Linked DNA regions of Homo sapiens: all the other regions are linked to region 2. The links are contacts of gene promoters, found by promoter capture Hi-C in blood cells and fetal thymus (Javierre and others, 2016). All regions are on one chromosome and are shown on one strand. The core of a region is centred on a gene start or on the middle of the fragment in contact, and the rest is flanking DNA. Distances in the headings are between cores, read along the strand shown.

The links. Contacts are between HindIII fragments. The CHiCAGO score rates a contact against its expected background, and 5 or more counts as called.
Region 1: a contact is called between the fragment with the promoter of WDR75 here and the fragment with the promoter of MFSD6 in region 2, in 10 of 17 cell types (total B cells, naive B cells, non-activated CD4 T cells and 7 more). The highest score is 15.3, in total B cells.
Region 3: a fragment that was not itself captured here is called in contact with the fragment with the promoter of MFSD6 in region 2 in 4 of 17 cell types (total CD8 T cells, non-activated CD4 T cells, naive CD8 T cells and 1 more); the score reaches 5.5 in total CD8 T cells.
Region 4: a contact is called between the fragment with the promoter of SLC40A1 here and the fragment with the promoter of MFSD6 in region 2, in 2 of 17 cell types (neutrophils and monocytes). The highest score is 7.1, in neutrophils.
Region 5: a contact is called between a fragment that was not itself captured here and the fragment with the promoter of MFSD6 in region 2, in 1 of 17 cell types (fetal thymus). The highest score is 9.5, in fetal thymus.
Region 6: a contact is called between a fragment that was not itself captured here and the fragment with the promoter of MFSD6 in region 2, in 3 of 17 cell types (total B cells, neutrophils and naive B cells). The highest score is 8.6, in total B cells.
Region 7: a fragment that was not itself captured here is called in contact with the fragment with the promoter of MFSD6 in region 2 in 1 of 17 cell types (naive CD4 T cells); the score reaches 5.2 in naive CD4 T cells.

The regions. Positions count from the first base shown.
Region 1 is chr2:189,439,583-189,443,113 of GRCh38, forward strand. It overlaps WDR75 (WD repeat domain 75), which reads left to right and starts at 1,892. Exons shown (of 21, transcript NM_032168.3): 1 at 1,892-1,996. The coding sequence starts at 1,911. It also overlaps a transcript of COL5A2 not described here. RefSeq lists enhancers at 758-1,456, 1,228-1,387, 1,408-1,627, 1,888-2,017, 2,038-2,267 and 1 more. The HindIII fragment of the contact is 5,353 bases long and covers 1-3,531 here.
Region 2 is chr2:190,406,706-190,410,479 of GRCh38, forward strand. It overlaps MFSD6 (major facilitator superfamily domain containing 6), which reads left to right and starts at 1,650. Exons shown (of 8, transcript NM_017694.4): 1 at 1,650-1,798. RefSeq lists an enhancer at 921-970 and a silencer at 1,231-2,270. The HindIII fragment of the contact is 2,674 bases long and covers 410-3,083 here.
Region 3 is chr2:191,148,088-191,152,086 of GRCh38, forward strand. It overlaps STAT4 (signal transducer and activator of transcription 4), which reads right to left and starts at 2,907. Exons shown (of 24, transcript NM_003151.4): 1 at 2,860-2,907; 2 at 1-117. The coding sequence starts at 116. RefSeq lists a silencer at 2,547-2,596 and enhancers at 3,067-3,116, 3,247-3,326. The HindIII fragment of the contact is 1,915 bases long and covers 561-2,475 here.
Region 4 is chr2:189,578,628-189,582,198 of GRCh38, forward strand. SLC40A1 (solute carrier family 40 member 1) reads right to left here and starts at 2,159. Exons shown (of 8, transcript NM_014585.6): 1 at 1,791-2,159; 2 at 1,186-1,253. The coding sequence starts at 1,833. RefSeq lists silencers at 2,113-2,172, 2,243-2,412. The HindIII fragment of the contact is 14,460 bases long and covers 1-3,571 here.
Region 5 is chr2:191,028,274-191,031,857 of GRCh38, forward strand. STAT4 (signal transducer and activator of transcription 4) reads right to left here. Exons shown (of 24, transcript NM_003151.4): 22 at 3,177-3,243; 23 at 2,699-2,807; 24 at 1,303-1,593. The coding sequence ends at 1,567. It overlaps STAT4-AS1 (STAT4 antisense RNA 1), which reads left to right. Exons shown (of 3, transcript NR_136318.1): 2 at 2,612-2,824. Among named protein-coding and RNA genes, the nearest start is that of STAT4-AS1, 8.5 kb to the left of the region's middle. The HindIII fragment of the contact is 1,766 bases long and covers 1,368-3,133 here.
Region 6 is chr2:189,695,156-189,698,876 of GRCh38, forward strand. It overlaps ANKAR (ankyrin and armadillo repeat containing), which reads left to right. Exons shown (of 23, transcript NM_001378068.1): 6 at 1-6; 7 at 995-1,214. Among named protein-coding and RNA genes, the nearest start is that of ANKAR, 22 kb to the left of the region's middle. The HindIII fragment of the contact is 3,751 bases long and covers 1-3,721 here.
Region 7 is chr2:190,947,114-190,950,834 of GRCh38, forward strand. The region is part of intron 14 of GLS (glutaminase); the gene reads left to right. Among named protein-coding and RNA genes, the nearest start is that of STAT1, 65 kb to the right of the region's middle. The HindIII fragment of the contact is 5,276 bases long and covers 1-3,721 here.

The sequences.
Region 1 (3,531 bases), core at 642-3,141, 970 kb before region 2:
TTACATGATAAAGACAACGCACTATTAATTAAACAGCTGTAGGTGGGATTGGTTCCTTAAAAATTATGTAAAAAGAAATCAAAATACAAATGACTTATCTTTCTGGGCACTTCAGTAAATTAAAACTCTGTGTAAAATAATCCTCCTATACATTTATCAATCCAGCTAGTTTTTGTCCATATCAGGATTTCTGATTCTTTTCTGAAAAATCTAAAGTTACCATACAGTAACATACAACTAAAGTCACACTAATTTGAGTGAAAATATTTATTTTGTTTCTTGGCTCAGGCCCTAAGGAAAAGCCTGTATCAGGTTACAAAGTACCCAACAAAGTCTTTAAAAGATTTATTGTGCATACATCAAGAGACTAAACAAAAAGAGGTTAAGGCTGCAGAATCAAAAGTGATATTTTACACTCCATCCACTGTGACAAAGGGTATCACAGTCATGAAAGAGAAAGCTGGTTACAGCTTGAGATAAACCAAAATTATTAAATATCTCCCTTTCTAGTTCTGGCTCCCCAAATAATAAAGTTTTGAGCACTTTAATAAGCTAGACTCCTCAGTAAAAAGTAAATTTATCCCTGATTTTTACAGTGGTGCTGTCCCAGGATATGTCTTGACCTTTGTGAATATTGTATTTCTCCACCATAAATAAACTTATAGGTATAATCATGTGTGGCTTAATGATGGGGATATGTTCTAAGAAATGCATTTTAGGTGATTTCATCATTGTGTGAATATCACAGAGTGTACCTACACAAACCTAGATGGTACAGCCTACTACACACCTAGGCTGTACGTTATAGCTGATTGCTCCTAGGCTACAAATCTGAACAACATGTTACTGTACTCAATATTGCAGGCAATTGTAACAGAATAGTATTTGTGTATTTAAACACATAAAAGGTACAGTAAAAACACAGTATTATAATCTTACGGAATCACCATGTTATATGCATTGATTGAAAGATCCTTATGTGACATGTGACTATATTTGAGACCTTGGTAATTTTGTGGTAAATCCACAAATCAAGAAGCGAAATCAAAATAGGCAACATAATATACAGGGTCCAAGAATATGATACGTGTAAGTTTACAAAGGAAAACTGGAGATAAACTGGCAAAAATAAACATGTTGAGATTTTAGGGGTTCCTAACCCACAGATTCTATTCACTAATGGGAAAAGGTAAAACTCAGGAAACCAGAGACCAGCGCCCTGAAACCTGGCGGGACTGGCCGAATGTCAGATTAGCCCGAGCAGCTACACTGAACGCTGCGGAAGATGCACCAGAATCCCGGAGTAGGAGCCAGATTTCCAAAGGAAGAAAGCTAGGCCCTAGGACTGTGGAGATTCTGTAGTAACCTAAGCGATGTTCACAAGAACAGAAGAACGGCTAATGAGAGGAACAAAAAGCTGTACAAGGAAGAGAAAGCTACCTTTCCACCCAATAACTCAACGCTGCGACCGAGAAAACCAGGGACGCGAGAGGCTCGCGTCATCCTGCAGCGCCGACACCACAGACACTAGAAAGCGACGCCTCCGGTGGGACGACTGGAGGTCACGTGGTACACTATACGCCACCTTTCCCTTCTGGCGGAAAAAGCCATAGAGTCAGGTTGACAAGGCCTGAGAGAAATATGTCTGTATTAAATAATTGTGTATAGGTATATAATAAAAACTGATTGTCTCTAAATCTCTGTTTTGCTTTCACCTTTTCTTACAAGTGTCTTAGTTTGACATTGCCCACACAAAAGGTGCCTGCACGGAAGCGGAGTCCTACCACCGAGTCTCAGGCCTAGAAGGGCCCGGGGGTGGGTTCTGTGGGCTGGGAACAGCCTTATTACCCGGCTCAACGAAGGAAGTTCAGGGCGGGACCAGAGATTGGCCATTCCGCTACTGCGCAAAGATGGTGGAGGAGGAGAACATCCGCGTGGTTCGTTGTGGCGGCAGCGAGTTGAACTTTAGGAGAGCTGTGTTCTCTGCAGATTCTAAGTATGAGGGGCACCGCGCTTTGTCGGCTGAGGGGCGGGGCGTGAGTTTCTCGAGGGTCGGGGAGAAGGAATTGTCAGTCGCGTTCGGACTCGCCCGCCTGGCGGATATCGGCTTTGGGTAGAGCACGCGCCTGTGGGGGATCCCCAGGGTACCTGGGAGGTCCCGTTACCACTGCAGATTGGGTTGCGTCCCCCGATTCCTGGACAGTTTACCTGCAGGTAGATAAAGGCCCTGGAGCCGGTCTCCGTGTCGAGGATCTGGAAGGTGTTCGGGCGGCTGGAAAATGGTCCAGGGGTGGATGTGTATGCCACTACCTTTGCAGTACCTACTCTTTCGTACAGAATCATGTTTTGGAGTGACTAAAACCTAAAACTATTCCGCTTTTTCTACCCACTCCTCACTCCTGAAGCATAGTGCATGAAGCATAGTGCAGTCTTTTCGGAACTTTACATGAAAACAGATGTTAGATTCTTTATGAGATAAAAATACGCTAAGACTTGGTCTCTTTTCTCAGTGTAGCTGGAAACCAAACCACTCCCTGGCTTCAAAATCCACTTCTTACATTATGAAACCTTTGTAAGTTTCTTAATCTTTGCCTCAGTTGCCATCATCTGTAAAGGGGGACAATATTTAGTTCATCTCACGTGGTTATTGGGAGGATTAAATGCCTCAATATGTTAAAACTACAGACAACAATGCCCGGCACATAATGGCTCAATGTATGTAGCTGTAATCATTATTACTGTATTGTCAGGTTTTCAAATAACTTTAGGTAGGGTGGCACTTAATAAAATCAAAAAACCCTTTCTGCCTTAGAAGAGTAGAGATAGTATTTTATGAAAGTTTGTAGCCTCCACAATATTCTTTTTTTTTTTTTTTTTTTTTTTTTTGATGCAGAATCTCACTCTGTCACCCAGGCTGGAGTGCAGTGGCTCAATCTAGGCTCATTGCAACCTCCGCCTCCCTGGTTCAAGCAATTCTGGTGCCTCGGCCTCCTGAGTAGCAAGTATTATAAGCGCGGGCCACCACGCCCGCTAATTTTTGTATTTTTAGTAGAGAGAGGGTTTCGCCATGTTGGCCAGGCTGCCCTGGAACTCCTGGCCTCAAGTGATCTGCCCACCTGAACCTCCCAAAGTGCAGCGATTACAGTGAGCAACTGTGCCCGGCCCACCCCCACAATATTCTGCATATGAGTGTACGACAGGTAGTTGTTGAAGGTAATGCAAGCATGACTGAAAGAGCTTTTATAAATTGCCTTAGAAGCCAAAAAAAAATGAGTCCTGTGGCTTTGTTGACATTGATCTTATGAATCAAAGGAAGAAACAGGCTTTAAGAGGCTGTCACACTGTGACGCTTCGGACTCATATCCATGTAACCAGTACTGTTCTTATACCTTATTCATTATAATGAGGTCCATTGTGTGTTTGATTTGCTAAGCCCAACAATTCATTTTTTAAGTACTTGTCAACTATATATTATGTATAACATGCTGCAGTGACAAAAACTAAGATAATTTTAATATTGATCCTGCCTTC
Region 2 (3,774 bases), core at 400-2,899:
TGGCCCTCAGGAGAAAAGCTGACCCCGAGAGAGGGCTTTTGGAGCACCCTCAAATATTCTGTGATTGAAGCCAAGGAGTGAGAGAATTCGCAGAAACAAACAGAATCAGAAGAAAGGAAAGCCTAGAACAAAACCCAAGGAAAACTAAAACTCAAGTGGAGCAAAGGGGAGTGGCCAGAGAGGAAGAGGAAAACCCAAGACTTGTGGGTCACAGAAGGCAGAGGAGGGGAGAGTTTCAAGGAGGAAAATCCAACACTTACGGAGCACCAAAAGAAGAGAAGGGAAGAGTTTCAAGGAGGGGACCAGTGTCTCGTGTTCCTGACAGGAGAAAGAAATGCCTGGAGAAAGAAATGATTGAATATCTACGTCAATATTGAAAGTGGATTTAGCATGAGGCTACTATAGTTTAAGCTTCAGAGACCCTTCATAAGCTCAGGAAGGGGCCCTAGAAACTTCGTATTTGTAATTGTTTTATTCTTCCTAAAGAGGGACTCAAAATTCAGAAACTTCAGGGCCTATCAAATTCTTACCAGTATGATTTCACGGTTAAGAGCTTAAAGCCTGGAGACAAAAGAAGCCTGCTTTCCCTTTCGCTGTTTAGTAACTTTGGATGGGTCACATTAACTTTCAGCCTCGGCTTTCCTCAGTTGTAAAATGGGAATAACGTTTCCTACACCTATAGGGTTATAAGGCTCAAAGAGTACCTACACAGTGCCCCGTACATAATCGATGTTTATAAGCGTTAGCTACCATTGTCACTCTTGTCGTTGTTGCCGTTAGCTACCATTGTCACTCTTGTCGTTGTTGCCAGAACAAGACAATAAACTCCTTAAGAACAGGATGTGGCATCCCCCAAAGCCCATCACAGGCACACAGACATACTTGCCAAGTGAATACTCCACTCTCCCCCAACTCTCTGCGTGTTTAACTAGAAATACAACTTTAATTATATTCTTAGTGCGACACACACGGTTGGCTTTTCAGCAAGATGCCAGTAGCAGCTTCCTGAAAAAGGGTGCCTTCGTCTCAGTGTTCCCCCTTCTTGGTGAGCCCCGAAACTCACAGATCGTTTGTCTCCCGCACCCCGCCGGCTCCTCCCTCCCGGGTCAACCTGGGACAGACGCGGAGATAACGCACTGACAGCATTAGCATTGTGTGTGCCACTTAAAAGGCGCTCAAGGAATAAGGGATGTTAGTACATTTTCCCCCACATTTCCTGGCCCGCACTCATTGCCTGGGGGCTCAGCGGAAGTCGCTTGGGGGTGCGGGGGGGTGGAGGGTGCGGTAGGGATGGAGCCTCGCCCAGTGCTTTCGCCTCCTCAGCGTGCTCCCCGGGCCCGGCTGGGTTCAGGTGTCCCTCCGGGCCGCCGGGGCGGGCTGGAGGCCGGGAGCGGGCAGTCGACGCATCCGCCGCCGCCGCAGGAGGCGGAGCGCTGCACCTGGCGGCCGGTCCTCAGCGCCCGGCCCTGAAACGGGTCCAGCCGGTAGTGACCGGCGGCGGCGACTGTGAGGCCGGGGCCGGGGAGGAGGAGGAGCCGCAGCGGGAGAGAAGGTCGCGCCGGCGGGAGCGCTGGGCCCTCCGCCTCCGTCCTCCGTGGCCCCACCCGGTCCGCATCCCTCGCCTCGCCTCGCCGCGCCCCGCCCAGCCCGTCGCAGCCCCGGAGGAGCGCGCGAGCAGCCCGGGATGGTGCGCGCTGCCCCGACAGCCGCCGCCCCGGCGCCCCGAGCCGCCGCCCCGTGCTCCGGGGACAGGGCTCCCCGCGCCCCGCGCAGCTGAGCGCTGCCGCCGCCGCAGCAGGTGAGTCGGGCCCGGCTTGCGGAGAAGGGGCTCGCAGACCCGCCCTGGCCTCCCCCGCCCCGCACGGGCCCAGCCGGAGGGCGGGTAGGCACCTCAGCCGCGCACACCTGCTGCCGGGAAAGGGGCTTCGGGGCCGGGGCTCGGAGCCCAGCGTGCGCCGCTGTCTCCGCTCGGGCCTCGCTCGCCCGCCGCTCCCTCCCTCCCTCCCTCCCCCGGCTTCCGTGTCGGGTGTCATCTTTGTGGGGTGCTGGGGGAGGCTGCCGCCTGCGCCCCCAGCGCGCCCCGTGCTGGCAGCACTTCCGCAAACGTAACTGGAGTCGGGAAAACAAAGGCGCTGCCCAGGGAGCCCTCGCCGGGCGCCCACAGCTGCTGCCGCGGGTGGGGACGGAGGGTGAGCGCCGATGCCCGGGTCCTCCTCCGCCCGGGCCGACCCGCGCCCTCGCCATAAACATCCCTGGGAAAAAGGAGGAGGTGAGAACCTCCACACAGCCCCAGTGACAAGGACGCGGCCACTTGTGTGGCAGGAGGAGGAAATTGACAACGTCTGCCCTCCCAGGTTAATAAATACGGAAAAAAAAATACCTCTGCTCTGCCAGCCACCATCCTAGCAGACATCCCCCACCTCGTGCTTTACTTCCACTTGGTCTAACATGTCTCTGGAGCCCTTTTGAGATACTACTGGGGGTTGCTAGTCTTTCTGGGTCATATTTATTGCCCATAGAGCAATTTTCCTGCAAATTTAGGTAAGATGGTGGAAAAATACAAACGCAACTTTCCCCCTCGTTAATCCCATCCCCACATGGACAGACAGGTGGGTTAATTACCTTTATGCATTCGCAACCACGGACGTTTCTTTTCATCCCAAAAAGATTGAATAAGCACCTCACAGAACTACTGGAACATATAATACCTTGCTTATTAGTGTGCAAAAGACTTAAAGAGTTGGGGTTCTAATCCCAACTGGTATTTAAATAGATGTGTGTGCTTGGGCATGTCACATCTTCCTGAGCCCCAGTTTTCTCACATGGAAAAGAGGATGGTTGGATATTATAGTGGCCAAAATTTCCCCTAATCCTTCTAGAAGTCCATGATTTTCTAGAAATCTAACCTCTTAAGTATAGATGAATGTGAAGGGTGGGTGGACATACAGTTGACTAAAATATGTAATAAAAGGAGATGTGTACTTGGTAGGTCCTTTCCCCAAGATGTGGGCACTAGCCAGCTAAAAGTGTATGCATCTGTTTTAGCCTTGTTAAGTAAAAGGATAGGATCCTCCTCTTTGGGAAGCTTGGCTTTTGACACGTCAAGCTGCTAGCAGAGGTGCAGGATATGGTCAGCTGTTTAGTGATAGTCAGATGGCTTGTATTTATCACGAGGTGTAAGTAAAATTTAGGATTGCTTAGGGGAAGGATGGGACATTGTTAATGAGCCCAGTGCAGGATGCTCTGGGGAAACAGGAGGAGAGAACATCACTTCAATAATGCATTAAAGCTACTAAGTAGTTGTGTGTCCTTCATGTTTACAGCAGTTTATTTCTAAGGCACTTTCCATCTCTATACAAATAAATATAAAAGCGTGAAGGCAAATAAAACACAAAGACAAAAAGCAGAGTTCACAGGTATTTGGTGGTGTGAGTATTGGATCACCAATTCCATCATATATAGTGTCTGGACTATTAACAGTATTAAGGCATTTTTTTGGGTACTTATTATGTTCAAGACACCATTGTAAACATTTAGTATCTCAATCTCTGTAAGATAAATCTTTCCCCTAGTTCTGTGCATGACAAAAAGGAAGCTCAGAAGGGTTAAGCAACTTACACAAACCACATAATCAGTAAGAGGTAGAGTTAAATTTGACCTCATGTTTCTGGCTCCAAAGCCCAGGAAATTTCCACATGGTGTCCCTCCCTAATCAGAACCTATTAAGTCTCTCCACCTACGCAGATGTCTTCCTTAGCTTCGTGCCTTTGAAAA
Region 3 (3,999 bases), core at 268-2,767, 740 kb after region 2:
TCAATCCATTGGGCCAACAGATGCCGAATTTCCATGGGAAAGTTGTCATCATAGAATTGATCCACCTGCTCCAAAAACTTGATTTCTAACTGTTGGACTTGATTCCACTGAGACATGCTATAAAAGAAGGTGTAGAATTAGAGTTTTAAAATATTGTTCATAGCCCTAGTACATATTTTCTTCTTTCCTTAGAATTAGTCAATGTTATGACTGAATTCCAATATATCCAAGGATACAAAAATTTCACTAAGGTTTTTTTTCATAATTCAACCCTAATGAAGGGAGCAGCCTTCTTTCTGTGCCCCTAAACTACAGCCTTCCTTGCTCTAAAATGAACTCCTGTTCTACCTGCTCCAAAAAGTTTTCACTCCCACTCTGCCAAACACCCCACATCCTGCCCACAGCTGTCTATGTGAATTTCTATTATCAACAAGCTCTTTCCCTATCTCTTGTCCCCTCAACATTTAGACTTGGAGCAACTTGAAGGCAAACGTATTTGACATTTACTATACCTCCTAAAACCCTCTAAGACTTTATATGTGAGGAACAACCCCCCAAGAAGCTTCTTTTATATGAAATTGCCAAATTTCTTTTTTCTTTATTTCAGATTTGTCTGGCTTCTAGAGTCAGCTTTATGTTCTTGACTTCTAGTCCAATTTTGTCTTAGCTTCATGAAGAATTTTATGTATGCATTTTCGTAGGCTCCAGTTTTTTAAATTAAAAATATTTCTGAACCAGTGAATGTGTTTCATTTCTCTCTGTGAGGATCCATTATAGATGGGCAAAGCTCTTAAAGGATGTAGTCTTTTTGTCTCTGAGAAACATCTGATAGTGGTTAAACCCTCAAGTTACTTAAGGAGTAAGAAACCACACTTGATACCTATTTGGCAGCCTGTCATAAAAGAAAAGTACGCATTTCCCCCTTGTAACCCCACTCTGGCCAATTTAGAAGCTGTAGACATATTTCCTAACTCAGGAAAATTAGTATGACGCTGCCTCCTTGAAATTACAGCATTTTATGTTTTCCAAAGTCAAATTTTTGGTTGTTTTCTCAGCAATTCTAAGTCAAGTAAAAACACCAAACCCCCTTTTACATGATTAATCACCATAACATTTCAACATATCTCATAGATAGGCTAAGGTTTCCTTTTGCCTATAGAACACCAGGGTAATTTCATATATTTCATATACATATTCTTTGGGTTTTAAGTAGAATCATTTTGAGCACCTTTTCCCTGAGCTCCTGGTAAATGACTTAAAATTTATAAAAAAACGTGTTGCCAATGTTTTGCTAAAGAGAAAGCAAGTGGGAAAAGAAGTAATGTTTTATTTGCATATCATTTTATATTTATGAAAACCTTTACACTTTACAATTCTAGGCATATTGTAAATGCTCAATCAATGCTTGTTAAATGAAGAATGAGTGGCACTCCTGACATTGCTATGAATATGGTAGGTGGATATAAGTAGTATGTCAACTTTAAAAAGGAAAAACTTGAAGATCAAATAGGCGAAATGACGCCTGCCTAATGTGTGAGGCTTCTAAGGGACAACCTGAGGTTTCCTGAGTCTGAACCATTTGTTTTTCCAGATATCGGATGTATATATATTCCATCGGATGTGTATATATTCCACACAAAATTGGAACATTTGTTCTCATGCTACTATCAACATTGTCCTATCTATCAATTTATTTTAGTTAATGACAACAGAGAACATGAGTTGAAAATAGCATTACAGTTTTTCATCATACTATTGTTAAACCCCCGCTATGATTTGGATGAAAAATCTATTTTCTAACTAAAACTTACAGGTAGATGGGAGGAATAAGTTCTAGTGCTGTAACACTAGGATGAATATGGTTAACAATAACTTAGTGTATATTTTCAAAAAGCTAAGAGGATTTTGAATGTTCACAACACAAAGTAATGATAAATGTTTGAGGTGATGGATATGCTGAATATCCTTTGATCATAACACATTGTTCATATTTATTGAAATATCACTGTATATTCCATAAATATTTACAATTGTGTGTCAAATGAAAATAAAAGGAAAATTAAAAAAAATAAAAATAAACACCGAAAAAAATCACTACTAAGATCTGAGTCTTTCGGAGAGCTGAATTCAAAGCTGAAAAAAGGAAGAAGAAGGAATACATAGTCCTAGGACATTTTCTATTGCAGCCTCTGGGAACGCCTTTAGACATCCTTCAGCAGGTTTCTTTGCTTTCACTCTCTAGGGGCTACTTCTTTCTCATGAAAACTGTGACGTTGCTTCTGAAAACTCAGTGCCTGTCTGTCCTTTTTGCGTGCATTTCCTAGAAGATCCCACTAAAGGGGCATTTTGTCCCACCGTCTGTGAGCTGGTGGTGCCGCTTTGGCTCTGTGGCCTGTAGCTTGCAAAAGGAGATGACCTGCCCTAAAATGTCACTCGCGCCCATCAAAGCCACAGTCACCGGCTGCCGTAGCTGCAAGCTTTTTTCTGAAATCCAGGTACGCTAATCTAAAGTCAGACATCACAGCTCTAGAGAAGCTGGCTAAGAAAGTGAAGAGGGGCTCACTTTCAGCCTCCGCGAGGACACACCTCCGCAGCCGCCGCAGCTCCCCTGGCCCCCGCAGGGAGATTCGCCCGGGCACCGTGGCGCGGGCCTGCGGAGCGGTTTCCGCGGAGAACCCGTGCCAGGGCGCATCTGTGGGTCGTGGAGTCGGGCGCTTCCTTCTATAATAAGCCTCCTCAGGAAGGTTAAAATGAAGCAATTGTCAAAACGCCAAGGGAAAGCAAAGCTTCAGAGTATCCTGCATAATAAGCATGTCCTCCTTACAAGAGGCAGCCAGAAGGTGTGGTCTGGCCACTTACCTAGCGCTCTCTCAGCACAGGTCCCAGGCAGTGCTCAAGTCCAAAGTCAGAAGCGCCCCTCACAGTCCCTAGGAGAAAGCCGCTGACGCCATCATCAGTAGGGGATTTGCATTTCTCCTCCCACTTGAGGCTTTCCTGTGCGTCAGTGTTCGAGTCTCTGGGACTTTACTTGGGTCAGTTCCCACCCACTCTATTCTAGAAATGCTAACACGCAGAAACTGCCAGGCTGGAGCCCCTTCACCGGGCGTCCTCTTCCCTCTTATCCCTCCCAGCGGCTCTCGCAACTGCAGGTGGCTCAGCAGTGCCAGGAAAAAGGGGAGGGGCGGGGCATACATTTTCTTCAGTGGTTTCCTTAGACAATCTGAGATCCTCTGCAGAGTTACTTACCTGGAGCCCAGTTCTTCAGCTTCCTCTCTCCCTAGTATAAGGCTCCACTCAGCCTGGTGAACCACCCCTGGGATGGAAGGGATGGGTAGCCAGGATCAAAACACCAAACTCATAGACCTTACTGGGCTCCAATTCCAGCGGGGTCCGCTCACTCCGACGAGGGTGACCTGACCCAGAGGGTTGGGCCAAGTCCTGGGTAGGCCACCAGTGCTTGCCCTTCCTGACCTAGCCTCCTCCTACTCTCCTTGAGTAGCCTTGCCCCTGGTTGCTACGGTGCGTTCTTCTCCCTTTGTGACATCAGCCTGTTCTAGAATCACAGAGTTGGAGGAAGTCTTGGTCCCATCTAATGCTAAATCCTCTTTCATATCTGAAGAGACCCAGTGAGGTGACCAAGAGGACTCAATAAGTTAGCCACGGAGCCCGATAATAGCCCAGGTGTTTCCCTTCCCACTTCAGTGGTCTTTTCATTTCATCTCCTTGTAGTTAGCTCTTAACCCCTTGATTCACAGTAGGGGTTCAATAAAATAAAGAGAAGTCCAGGCGTGTGGCTCACACCTGTAATCCTAGCACTTTGGGAGGCTGAAGTGGAAGGACTCCTTGAGCCCAGGAGTTTGAGACCAGCCCAGGCAACACAGTAAAATCCCACCGTATATTAAAAAATCAATAAAAATGTTTAAGAAAGTAAAAATAGTAAAACAAAGACAAAAATAAAGACAGACAGACAGACTGAAAGAAAGGTAGAAAGTGTCACTC
Region 4 (3,571 bases), core at 909-3,408, 830 kb before region 2:
CAAACTATTGCTTTTTATTTATTAAGGGTTGTTTCACTAGGTTTCTACTTAGCATCATCAGCTGTTGGAATTAAAACAAACTCACACCAATTCCACTTTGTTTACATGTATTTGCAGAGTCACCCCTGTGTAAGCCTCTGGTAAGATAGGAGCTTGCTTTTCTAAAATGTCATCTATAAACTGCTATTTCTTAGAGAACCAATAATGTAGCTTAACAATTTCTCAAAGGTATTGGGTATAGATTTCCTCTTCCAGTGGTTTCCATCCATGTCTTAAGGATGATCCAATATAAGTTTCCAATTTAAAAGGAAAATAACATTCAAAAAATTTACTCTCAAAATTCTTTCCATTCTTTTTAAATACATATGAGCCATGGACAGAATATAGCCAGATTTATTGCTTTTAAACAATAATTGTTTAATGTTAAAGATTCTAATCATCACTGAACATATATCTAGCACCCTTCTAGTTTATTATTTTTCGGAGAGAGTTTTAGGAGCCCAGATCTACAGAAACACTAGGTCTTTTCCAGGACAACCTAGAAAGTCAGAGGGAAAACTGTAAATCCATTGCTGATATTCATTGGATGATTAATTTTAAGATAGCCTCCACTGCCCCAAACTTTATCTAACTATAGATAACATTTTTAAAGACCAGAATTTTTGTCACTCAGATATTTGTTCTGGGGGTCATTTATGTTTCAATTAATCTTAGAATGTTATTATTAGCTTAAGTCAGTCACTCTACCATTCTATTGTATTCTCATGGTGCTGCACGCTGGAACTAAATTTTAACAAAAAAAGAAAACAAAATATTTTAAAATGTGAAGAAGAGAAGGTATATGAGACATCCATCCATCTTTTGTAGCAGATATGTCTATTTACCAAAGCTACTAATGCAACATAAAATTTAAAAACAAGGCAAATATTCCTTTCCTTGATAATCTTGTCTGGATAGTTGTCTATCTACATAAACTACGATGATCTGATAATTAAGTTGCATTAACTAACACTCATGGGGAAAGATCTTCGATGTAAATAACGTTTTCATTAAAGCATGTGTACTTGGATGATTTATTTCTTTAACTGCTTGACAAAACTGGAAGTTGGCTTAATACAACTGGCTAGAACGAAAGGAAATAAAAAATTGCGCAACTGTGTTGTAAGACTATGCATTCTCACTTACCCAAGTAGAGAGAGAATGACCAAGGTAGAGAAGGAATTTTGCAGAGGTCAGGTAGTCGGCCAAGGATCCTGCAAAGACACAGGCGGGGTGACAAAAAGCGATGGTAGTCACTTAATGAGCTGAGGGCAGAATGCTTATCCATTTGATCTCATTAGAACATGATTATTAAAAACTACTTTGCAGGACAAACCACGTACATTTTATCAAGTTACCTATGAACCGATGTATTTCGTTCACTTAATACCATTCACTAAATTCAGTTATTGACCTAGTCAATAACTGCCCAACTTCACATTTCACATACAGTGAAGAAACTCTTGTTTCAGCATTCTTTTTTGGGTTGGTTGGTTTGTTTGTTTTGTTTCTTTTTTACACAAGGCAATCCAAACTGCCCAATCTACTCCATCCGTGCCTGTGTGCAAACCCCTTTTCCCACACCCTGAATTTCCTTTCTTCCTTAACGTCCACCAAATATGAGTCAAAGGATCTTTTTACAAAGCTATGGTTCACAGCAGAGCCACATTCCTCCAGAACTCGTGTAGAGTTGCTTGTCTCCAAAGCCCCACCTGGGTTTCCACCATATGCTTTCGGTCAACGACACTCACCACAGCATCCTCTCTGGCGGTTGTGATCTCCCGCCCTGGTCATGACACTAGGCGACCCCGCTGGCTCTTCTGCGGCTGCTATCGCTGCTGCTGCTCTCGCTGAGGTGCTTGTTAACAGGAGTGCAAGGAACTGGAGATAGCACCTCTAAAAACACAACAGCCTTGGGCAAAAAGACTACAACGACGACTTTGGCAAAGAACAAAAGAAAAGGGGCCCAGGGATTTTCTTTTTTCCTTCTTTCCAAACTTAGCTAACACTGTAGCTGAAGTTGGAAAGGCAAAGCCTTATGGAAGCGGTTTGGGAGGCTCAGCAGGTCGTCCGAGCCTAGCGGACGCCCTGAGCCAGCTCTCTCCGCCGCCGCCGCCGCCGCCGTGGGCCGGGCCCAGCTCTTATACCGAGTCGGGGGCGGAGCTCCCTGCGACCTCCGACTGGGGCCGCCCCGTCCCCTTCAGGGCCGCCCGGGCGTCCCCGCGGCGCGAGACGAGCTCCCGTCAACCTTGCGCGCCGGGCCGTCCCCGCGCCCTTGCCCGGAGGAGTCGCCCACCCCGGGCGCAAGCGTCCAACCGGCCGCAGACACCCTGCGCGGCTTGCGGGGACCTTCGCCTCGACGCGTTCCACTCCCCGGGTTTTCCTGCTCTCCGGGAAGCCGCGAGGGCAACCTCGGGGGGCGGCCGTGGGGCTGGGAAAAGGAGGAAGGCGCGTGGAGCCGGCGGGGCGGCGTAGGGAGATTCTGCGCGAAACTAAGCGTCAGGTGCTGGAAGAAAGCGCTGCGCACCGGCTACCCCGCAGTTCAGGGAAAGGGCGGCCGCCGGACGGTCGCAGTGCAAAGCTCCAGCGCGAGCTTGGTGGGTGGGGATTCCTTTTTTAACGAAAATAATTTTTAATACAGGTATCTAAATAAATATAATTCATGCCACAGAGGCCGCTTTCCTGGCCGTCCCATTCCGGCCCGCCTGCAGCAGAGAATGCCTTTCCTTCCCCGGACTGCATAGCAGGGCTTCCCTCAAAGAACCAGAATCAAAGGGCAGGAAGGGGGCGCAAAGATCAGAGTCCATCCCTCTTGAGAGGAGCAAACGGAGGCTTGCAAAGGTGAAGTCCCGCAGCGAGTTACAGACCTACCCGTATCCCCAAACTGGGGCCTCCAAATCCGTCCTGGAGACAGAATGAGGATGCTGCAGCCCCAGCAAACCCTTCACCATCATTCCTTCTCCCTCTGTACCCTCTCACCCCGCCCCCACGCGCGCGTCCCTTCCCCACCTAACCTCCAAATGCCCCAGTGACAGGCTTACCAGGAATACCGGTTATCCCAGTTGTGTCCCTGGATCTGTCCCTGTCCAGATAAAGCCATTCGGTGGCCTCCTGGAGGGTGAGGTGAATGACTAAAGAACACCAGACTCTAGCCTTGGTTGACTTCGTTTTAATCCTGCTGTGCCAAACCAACCCCTGGGGCATACCAGCCCCTTTTGCCAGTAGGTTACCTTACCCTTCTTAATCTCACGAAAACCCTGGTAGTGGATCCTACATATTGAAACTCCAACCAGATGCCACACCTTGAGCACAGGCCAGACTGACACCCAGTAGTGAAGGGAGCCACGCATGAGTATGTGCCCTGTATCTGCACTCTCAATCAGGAGCCCCAAAGGTCTACGGGGTGGGTGCAGCTGGATTCGGTTGGGATGTGGTCTGGTGAGTAGAGATAGGGGTTACAGTTTAACTACTGCTTTTCACTGCTTTTTGCCTTTTCAAGCCCTCTTTTTTCCTTTCTTTCACACGACATTCA
Region 5 (3,584 bases), core at 1,001-3,500, 620 kb after region 2:
AAGTAGAGACTGGGAGGATGCACCTCCAGTTAGATGCACCCTTCCATCAAACAGATGCCTCCACCCTAAAAGCATTTAGGCGCTCACAAAGGAGTAAAGGAACTGGCCTTGGGGCAGGTGGAGAGTTTGTTCCATAGGAATAATCTAGGAGCCAGTTGGGCACATGTGGGTGGGATGAGATTGCTCAGATGGAATCTCTCTAAGGGAAAGGGCAGGTTATAGTAAAAGCTTTTATTCCTTTGAACTCTTTTCCATCAAACATTAGCCTCTGCCTATTTGGTTTGCCTGGAGGACAGGAGGTGGGCAGAAGGAATGAAATAAGAGCCCTTCAGAGGGGGCTGCCATCTCTGACTCTGCAGTCAGGGCTCATCTTGAAACCTGGTTCTGGATTTTTCTGCAGCTGGCATGGCAGATGCCTCAGTAGCATTACTTGCTCAACAGATTCAGCAGCATCCCCAGGGCTCAGCAGGCATAGAGAGCTCTCCAGGTCTTGAGCACTGGAGAGCTCCATGCTATTACTAAGGACAGCAGCTGGGCAATGGCACCACTAAACATCCAGTAGGGGTGAGGCAAGGACCAAAATAGACTTGCAATTCACATACATTACTATCCAGGAAACCAACTACCCTTCCTCTTTACTAGAGAAAATTGAAGGAATGGAACATCTCATCCTAAACCTCTTTCCCCAGTCTCAGGTTGGATTCTTAGGACCAGAGAGACTATTAGAGCTGGGAAAGATCATAGAACCCACATAGTCTTACCTCTTCTAGAGATGAAGAATGAGCAACCTATGAATAAAATCAGTTACCCAAGGCCAGAGTTGTTATTCTCCTAGTCCTCATTTCATCCTCCTAGTCCTCATGAGTTTTTTTAAATTATTATTTTTTTAACCCATGTGTCTGCTTACAATACCTGTAAAATCAGTGCAGTTTGCCCAAGATACCACCAGGAATGACTCTGGATCCCTCCTCCTTTGGAACCAGCAGCTGTTGAACCCCATAGTTGGAATAACGTTGACATGGCACTAAGGAGGCTTCATAATTCAACCCTGGATGCCCCGTGAATTTCTGCTAATGTCCCATCACGACTTTCCTCTTGGATCTACTGTGATCACCATGCCTGCTAGCGTTCATCATACTGATTGGCTTATTTGGCTTTTCCCTCACGCCTTCTTGCTGAGGTGTAGGTGTGACTTTATTATTCTTGACCTACCCTGAAACATTAACACTTACATCTTCTAGCTAAAATCGTAGTAACACCAGAGAGACAAAATGAGAAATAAACCAAACACAGGCAAGCGAGTCTTCTGTTAATATTGTTATTAACACTGGTTTCTTAAAGTTGTCTTATCTTGCAAGTTTATCTGAAGCTTTGGTTTCAAGCATTTCAGTCACAACACTCCCAATTGAGGAGTGCCACGGGAGTGTGAAGAGAGCTTCAGATGTCAAACATTTCCTAGAACCTGGTATTTACAAAGCTGAAGAAATAAAATGTGGTTATTGGGCAAAGAACAGTCTTTAAACTTTTTCATTTGCTTCCTTTCTTGGTGCGTCAGAGTTTATCCTGTCATTCAGCAGAATAAGGAGACTTCATCTAAAATTAAAAATGAAAATAATCTTTGAGGAAACTACTGGTTTTCAAATCAATCACTATTTCTTGGGCAAATAAACGTCCTCTTTTCTACGAATTACTCCATAATTTTTCTATTACCTAGTTAAAATACTTAAACTAAGTATTTGCAAAAGTAATTGGGGTTGATCAGTCTAAAATAAAAGGTACCTTTCAAGGAGACAGAAAAGTGTTTTAAGAAAAAGGCCTGTTTATCCACCAAAAACATAATGAGGAAATGGGTGCAAAATGTAGCAAATGTTCAGTTAGACATAAATAACTTGACGATTTAAGGGAACTAACATTAGAATAAGCTATCAAAGTAAAGTGAATTTTTCATCTATGGAAATCTTCAAGAGAAGGACTAAAAGCCAGCCAGATAAAAATTTTTTGAGGCTTAGGGTCTCTCCAAGTTTCTATTATATTATTCTGATGTATGTTCACTTTCATGTAAATTGGGGGTTTGAACCCATTGACAGTATTGGTGGATAAGAGCAAATAGCATGCATCCCAAATAACATTATTGCATTAAAGATTATGACTCATTTCTCAAAAAGGAGAGCATTATTATGCCATTGACTGTTATTCATATATTATTGATGAGGCTCCGGGTTCTAGAAATGCAAGTCACAATCAAGAAAAATTGCAATTTGTGATGTTTGCACTGTTAAGATAGCAAACTGGGTTTACTAGATAGTAAGTAACTAGTAAACTAGATAGTATACTAGGTTTATAAATATTGACCAATAAATGGTGTTTGCTAAAGTAGAGAGTGGTGGGGAGTGAGGGGGCCCATGGTGCAAGCAGCGATAGTGTGCTTGAGTAGGGTATAGGAATATTTTGCCCTCTGGTGGTTTCTGGTGGAAACAACGTAAAGCAGTTTAAGTAACTGAAGGTGTCTGCTTTCAATACGCATAATATCAGCAACACGCAGGACCATCCAGACACCTTTTGTGTTATGCTCATGAATTTGTTCCAATAAATGTGTTTTCTCCCTACCCAGGCAGTATTTCAGCCCCTTTGATTCACACACCACCTTTGCATCGTTGGAAACACCTTTGACCAGCAATGGAAAATAAAGGGAACATACTGCAGTTTCAATTGTTGTGGGACTCAGGTTTTCTCTCAACACCGCATACACACTTGGAGACATGGGAAGAAGGTCTGATGGAGAATGTGGCTCTGTTGAATCACTTCGGCTTAAAGAGATAACAAGGTCAATATGGACAAGGATTAAAAAATAATAATAGTTCACGGTGACTTACTATGTCAGGAACTCATTTCTAGGGCTTCATCTATTTGTGACATTGAGTTATCTAATTCATCATTTCATATCAGAACACTCAACTTACTGTGGCATATATGGCATATAAAAGGGGAATTTTATAATTTTAGGCACAATAGATTGTGGTAAGTGTGCCCTGAAGGCTAGCCTTATGTATTAAAGGAAATGGGACATTGCACATTACAATGCTTTGTTCTCAGTTATGTGTACTCTGCTCTACCTTTAAATCTCCTATAGGAAAGCTTTTTATAAAAATATTTCACATGTGACTAACATTACTCACATTGTTGAGATGGGGATAAAAACAGAAGGAACATAACCTTTGTCACCCCTTTCTGTTGGTCTTGAAACTGGAAAACAAAAAGGCACAATGTTGGGGAAAAAAATGTCAATATTATCAATAAAACTGGGGAAAAAAGAGTCTAGAAAAATATTAACAATGATAAGAGGAAGAGAGATAACGCAGTTGTTCGGTGATACACAGAAATGTTTTGTTAAATAGGGGACACAATCTTTTAGATAAGCATAAAATGTGCAAGAAGAGAAAAACAAATCTCTTGGCAGGCCTAATCTGACTTTACATATTAATGCCTCTAAACTGTGTGGGAAAAATTGAGAATCAACTCTATTACCTGTTTTCTACGTTTCATTTATGTTTGATTATAAGGACTGATTGAGTCATGTTTTGGGA
Region 6 (3,721 bases), core at 600-3,099, 710 kb before region 2:
TGCAAGGTATTTCAGTGACTACCACATAATTTAGTATATGAAGTTATGTATTATTGATAAGTATGTGTCTCAAACAGATGTTTATCCTAGGGATAATAATAGGTTAAAGTCTTCAACATGAAATAAAATGCCACATTTTAGTAGCTGAAAGGCTATACAATTCTGGATTATAAATTTCTGGCAGAGTACCTGTTAATGCACTGGATTGTGATTAATCTCAATAACGGCTTATACGTATTGATTGCTTATTTTGTATGTTAGGCAATATTATAAATCAATGAACTCTTTTAAGGTACGACTAGTTCTATTATTATCATTCCTGTTATACAAATGAGAAATTTGAGGTGTAGAGAGGGATCTTTCACAAATCATATAGTAAATGGCAGAGCCAGGCTTCAGTCCTGGGAACTAAAACCTAAAGAGCAGACCTAGCATCATCAAATCTCCACATCTGTTTCAACAAGCCTTGAAGTACAGCTTCTGGAACTGAGCAAAGAAGCTCACCAGCTTCAAAGGTTAGACTGGTATTTACTTTCCATTTATTTGTTTTCACGTCCACAAATTAAAACCTCAAAAATTTGTTAGTTGAATTTTTAAATATTAGTCAGAATGTCTAAAGAGGGTGACATTTTTACCTTTGGATGACAAACTGTATTTCTACAGCTATATATTTCAAATTTCTAGACTTCTGAATTAGGTTTTTCTTAAATCAGAGAAGGAACCCAATGATCTCCATTTGCTTTTAAAATATTTTAGAAAAAAATTAATAATAAAAAATTCCCCAAAATATTTTTTAAATTCTTAATATTTGCTTATAGCTCTAACTACTTTAATCATTATCCAGTAAGAAACTTTCCATGCATGGATCTTGTGAAAATTCTACTTAATTTTAACAGCATTCATGTGATTCTGTTAATACACTTCATGTATTTTTTTCCTTAAACCAAACTTTAGGTGCATTTTGATAAACTGATTCTGGCCTTCTTAATTTTAGAGTATTCCATTTGGTATGAAGTCCGCTGTTGAAAGAGGGTTGTCTGCAGTTTTCCACACATTTAGCCGTAAAACCTCAAGCTCAACAATCAATGTTTCAGATGAAGCAGGTTATACTATTTTTCATCATGCTGCCCTGCACAACAGAGTTTCTATTATATGTCAACTGTGCAATGCTAACTTCAAGGTCAACCAGAGGCGCTTTGTTACGTTCAGCCAAGGTACCATAAAGTTTTTTAACCTAAAATGTTGTTATTTTATTTACCCTTACTCAGCATTAGGAATGCACGTTGATTTTAGAGCAGGTTAAAATTTGGTATTAACTAGAGCAAAGTTGAGGTTTTTGTTTCATTTATCTAAGAAAGGCTTCTTTTAGTTTTCTAAGTATCACTTATAGCTAGCTTATATGGTTTTATATTTGCTCATTGTGTCTCCTTCATTTGAGTATAAGCTCTATAAGAGGGCAAAGATTTAGCCTACTTTATTTGCCGTGGTATACTAATGTCCAGATGAAAGTGTGGCTTAATGGTTGCTCAGAAAATATTTGTTGAGTTAATGCATGGATGGGTGAAGGCAGGATATCATTTGATAAGCACTGGCAAAATTAATATACACTGATATACTATAGAAATTCAGAGAACAGCAATAGATATGACTGTCAGGTCCCAGTAGAACAATCATTCTTTATTCCAGGATCCTCAAACAGGGAATAGTTTCTTTATATTACATATATTTAAATTACATTTAATAACAAAAAATTTCTTTATCATAATAATGTTTAGCATTAATAGCCCCTTTAAGGTTAACCTCATTTAAACTTTAAAAGCTATTTTTGTGATTATTAAATATGCATGGATATTTTATAATCATTGAAATAAATTTAGCTAGAATAAAAACAGAGTTGAAAATGAAATTGGTGGCCCTCCATAACTGGAAAGGAAAATATAGATAAATTGTCAGGGGCAGGTGTAGTGGCTCACTACTGTCTTGCCAACACTTTGGGAGGCTGAGGCTGGAGGATCACTTTAGACTAGGAGTTCAAGATGAGCCCGGGCAGCATAACGAGACCCCCTGCCCATAAAATTAAAAAAAAAAAAAACTTAGCCAGGCTTGGTGGTACACGCCTGTAGTCCTAGCTACTCTGAGAGGCTGAAGCAGGAAGATTGCTTGAGCCCAGGAGTTTGAGGTTACACATATATATGTACATATATATGTAAATTGTCAGGAATGGCCAATGCAACAATATTGGCAATAAGAAGTGGTGATTTTATATTTAATGAAGTCAGCTATCTTAATAAGCTATGTTAAATTTTTACAGACGCCAAAACAAAATGTTTTGCTTTAACCGTATTGAATATCCATAAATTCTGTACTCTATCAGTATGATTAAAATGTTTTGATATTCAGATTCTTCTGTTACTGAAAATATTCAATACATAATACATAATGAACCTAATTAAAATAAGACACAATTCAATCACATTTAAATGCAATAGGTAACACTATTTAAAGATGTATTACTTTAAGCCTTTTTTAGTGTGGAAAAAGTCTTTGATAAATTAAAAGTTTCTCATGCGCCCTCTGACTGCTTGAGTTTCCATTTGCTGAGAATTAGGTAGATTTTGAAGTGTGGAAAACATAGTACTCTACTTCCAATATTATTGCTTAACCAACACAAAATTGTCCCACCTGTGAGTTTTAAGCAGCCATTTGGGGGGCAGAGTTTCCAGGTCTGCTTTTAATGCGTTGTCAGGTTGCATATGACATGCCTGGATGACTTGACCAAAAGTTATTCTCAACACTGTTCGATGTAATCTTGCCAGATACATCTACATAGTCATTTTGTTCTTATTCATATGAGTCTTCTTGAACAACTTAGGAAACTGCTGTATATTAATGATCATACTTCTATGTGCATTCCCTTTTAAAACAGAGTCATCCAAAGTAGAGGTAAAAAAGGAAAGAAATGGTAAGACATAAATAAAGTATTTGGTGCATTTAAAAAGGCTATTGCATATATTAGAACTTTTCTTATAGTATATAATCTCTAAAATACTGTTGCATCAGAATGTTGCATAATGATGTTTTGTATTCATTTTGAAGCATAAATTACTTTCTACTCATAGTTATTTATTGGTATTCCTCTTCAGTTTGGGGAGTTTTCTCTTTTTTTCCTGTGGAATTTGCTGTCACCTTTATTTTTTATAAATTCAGGCCCACAAGTGGTTTCTACAACTTAAAAAAAAAAAAGTTATTATAATATAAATTAGATAGGCTGCCATCTAGTGGCAGTAACAATCTGTGAGGTCTGAGGAATGAGTCGTTTTTGACTGAGGTAGTAGACTTAACCTCAATGTTGGATATGGAGAAAAACAAAATGTTAAGAGGTTATACTTTCTTTGTCTATATTTAAGAGGCTATACCTTCATACTCTGTATAAGAGAATTCAGAAAGGCTTTTGTTTTAAAGAAATTACGTACAACGAACTGAATTGTCAAGGGGGAGGGGATAGTTACTCAAATTGGCCATCTTCCGTTAGAGGAGGAGCACAGCAAACCTGAGATGACCTCAGAGAGGGAGCCCGACCTCATTCTTCCTCCTCCAATCTCCTGCCAGAGCTATCCATTGGCAGATACTGACAAGGAGCCAGAGGACACAGGTTGCTTTTTCTGCAGGTGCAGGAGAGCCAGGGTGGTAAAGGAGGTGAGTGGAACTGGAGCGGGAAAAA
Region 7 (3,721 bases), core at 574-3,073, 540 kb after region 2:
GCTACTTACTCATAAGTACAGAATTATTAGGGCATTTACAGAAGTCACACAACTCAACCTTTAAACAAGCTCAAACTGAGTAGGATAATGATAGGATTAAAGACTTAGGAATGCCATGTTTTAGATGTGTAAAACTGATACACTCCCCACCTGCTTCTAGCTGTTTTGGAAAAAAGTGAGATTTGCTATGCCAAGCATGCCAGTGTTAAGTGAACTCATGTGAACTGTAACATTTTTTGTCCCACTGTTGTCATGACTTTGTACAAATAAACTAAGATAAGATTGTCTGGTTCGGGCAGATTCTGATAAAGAGACTTGATAAGAAAAATGCAGTAGTGCTGGAAAATCTACAAGATGAAGGGGAAACTGTTAACAGTTAATTTATAAATTTTAATGGCTCTCTGCCCAGGTGCAGTGTCTCTTTGCCATGGGGAGGTATACATTAAACATCAGAGCCCTTAATTTAATAGCTATTATTGCGGCTGTGTATAGTCTGTTTCTTTATAGTAAGGAATTATTTATCAAAACATAGCTTCCATGCCTCTGGCATTTACTGTTAACCCATTATTTTCTGGACTTTGGCCTCCTTGACAGGTATTTTAAAATCAATGTAACTCAAGTATCCAGTGGGGAAATAGGGGAATGAGCTTTGATCAATGGTTAGCACACCTACATCCTTTGCAAGTATTGGTGTGGAGGTGGATGACTGATCTTCTAGAGTGCCCCTCTCCTTCAGTTTGTTTGCTATGATAGGCATTCCAGAGGGTGTGTCAGCTTAGTTGGAAATACTCGTGGCGCTCTTTAACAGACCAGGAAGCAGACTGTCCCTAAATGAAATACTCCATCTGTTGTCTCAAAAGTGTTAAACTAGTTTCATTTTCTTTTGTGGCATTCTACCCACAGCTCATTTCATAATTTATGTAAACTTAAAAGTATAGGGGGCTGTTGATGCTAGAAAGAAGAGGAATTTGTGGTTTTGCTTTTAAATAGTGCCTGTGCATGGGCTGCCTCCTAGTGCTTTTCTGTTTTGGAGAGAATTACACTCACTTTGTGTTCAAGCACCTATCTTCTGGTTTGGACTAAATCCAGCTCCATAGCTAGCCTTTTGTTTTCATGGGAAGAATACCAAACTTCCATGTTAGTCTTTAATAATTTTGTTAAGGCGAGCTAGTGTTTTTCCCTTCTGATTAGTTACAAAGCCTTTGTACATTAAAGTTTCCTGATTTTTTTTTCTCATGCTTTTGAATAACAATATACTCTGAATAAACCAAGTATATTCTAAAATCTTCTATTTTGGGCCTTATTAATAAGAAATGGACTTTTAGAACGTTTGAAATGTTGAATAATGAAGTGACTAAGTGCTACACACATACTATAATAAAATCTCTTCAAACGAGCATGGTCTAAATTCAAAATTTTAAAGGGGAATGTGTAGTTCTTATATCCAGTCACTGAAACAGATGAGGCTTTATTGCTTAGAAGTACCAACATAGTTTTAAAAATAATAACTGGGTAATTAATATATTAATGGTATATACAGGGGAATTTGGATTTTTCTTAGTGGTGGGGGAAGTAAGACACACAAATGCTCCATGTGGTCATGTGTTATAGTGCCATAGTGCAGCAAAGGTAGACGGAGATTACTTTTGATTTAAGAGATTGGAGCAGAGTTCACAGGAATGGGTAAGAATAACATATCAGTGAGAAATGGGTGGGGAAAAATGATTTCAGGAGAATAGTATGCACTGTGGGAGGAAGCAGGAGGTAGATCCAGGGTTGTGGTGGGAGTGGAGGTATCTAATTGACTCTGTCCCTAGCACATGCTGTCACAGGGCACTGTGTGGGCAGCTGGCAATAAGCTACATAGATAATGAATGCTGGGCTGGGATGGCCTGGGGAAGACTGACAGCAAGGAAGGGACTTTCGGGCTAGTCTTTGAGGGAAGGGAAGGATTTGATTAGGAATCTGGGTGTTCTTAAGAGCATAGACACCAAGACAAAAACAAGGGCAGTAAGACCAATTTTGCTCTATTGAGGTTGAGAAGAAAAATTAAGTTAGCTGGACTGAAGAACCTTGAATACAAGGCTGAAGAACTTAAATGTTATCAGGAATGATTTTGGGTTTCTTGATACTCCGCTGCTTAGAAACCTGTAGTGATTAGAGCAATGTTTTGAGAATATGATTAGAAGTATGTGGAGAGGTTTTGGAGGGTGGAAGAAGGACCAGAAGCAGAGGCATCAGTTAATGATTGAATAAATCTTGTAATGATATTCAAAGATGTAAAAGTTAAGGTAGATGGGCTGGGCACAGGGGCTCACACCTGTAATCCCTACACTTTGGGAGGCTGAGGCAGGCAGATCGCTTGAGGTCGGGAGTTTGGGACCAGCCTGGCCAACCTAGTGAAACCCCGTCTCTACCAAAAACTACAAAAATTAGATTAGTGGTGGCACATGCCTGTAATCCCAGCTACTCCAGAGGCTGAGGTGGGAGAATCACTTGAACCCGAGAGGCGAAGGTTGTATGAGCCGAGATCTTGCCACTGCACTCCAGCCTGGGTGACAGAGCGAGACCTTGTCTCAAAAAAAATAAAATGCAGGGTTGGGGGCCGATAGAGGAATTAATTTTGCAATTTAATACCCAAAATTGAATATTTGATGCCTTGAGGGAGAATATTCACTTAGTCAATAGATATTTAATGAGCACCTATTATGTGTGATAGACACTGAGTTTACGGTGGGGAACAGAAAGACAAGTGGTCTCTGCCCACATGGAGCCTATATTTAATGAGAGAGACAAAAAACAAGTATATATAAAAATATATATACTTTATATATAGTTATATATAACAAATATAGTTAAAAAGGATATAGTTAACAATACAATATATATATATATATGAAGGGGAAAAGCAAGGTAAGGGATAAGGAGTGATGAAAAGAGGGGAGTGTTTTAGAGTCTTGAGAGAACATTTGAATGGAGACCTACCCAAAGGGAGGGGGAGAGGGAGCCTCCTGACAGCCTGGGGAAAGAGCATCTCTAGCAGCCAGTTGTAGGCCTTGAGTGCCTGAGACCAGCCAGATGTTCTGAATGGAGTAGAGCTGGAAAGGGAAGAGTGGTAGGAATGATATGTGCAGTGTAACCAGGAATAGAGCCTTTAGGGTCCTGAAAGCCATGGTAAAGAGTTTGATTTTCCTTTAGATATGATGGAAAGGCACGGGAGTTCCTTGATGTTTTTAAAAGATCCCTATGGCAGCAGAGGTGATAAGGTGGTGGTTCAGATGAGGCCTAAGGCAATAGTGATAGAGGTGGTGAGAAGTGATAGGATTCCAAACATATTTTGCAGGAAAGAGGATTTATTGATGAGCTAGATGTGGGCTGTGAGAGAAAGAATAGAATCAAGGACTACCCCCCATGGTCTGTATGGTGAATTTGTCTGAATTAGAAAAAGCTAATTCTGTCTCTGGCCAGAAGCAGAAGCACTTCTCAGCACCACTGGGTAAAGAAGCTCCCTTCCTCCCAGCACATGTACCTGGGTGCTAGGACACCTTGGTGGGAAGAGCGTGGGCTGGTAACCCGTGTTGGCCCTGTGGCCAGGCATCCTTGTGAAGGACTCAACCTGCATAAGTGAATGCAGCAGCACTGGATGACTCCTGAGTTTGTGGCCTGAGCAAGTGGGTGAATTGTAGTGTCATCCCCAAACTGGGGAGACTAGAAGAGGAGC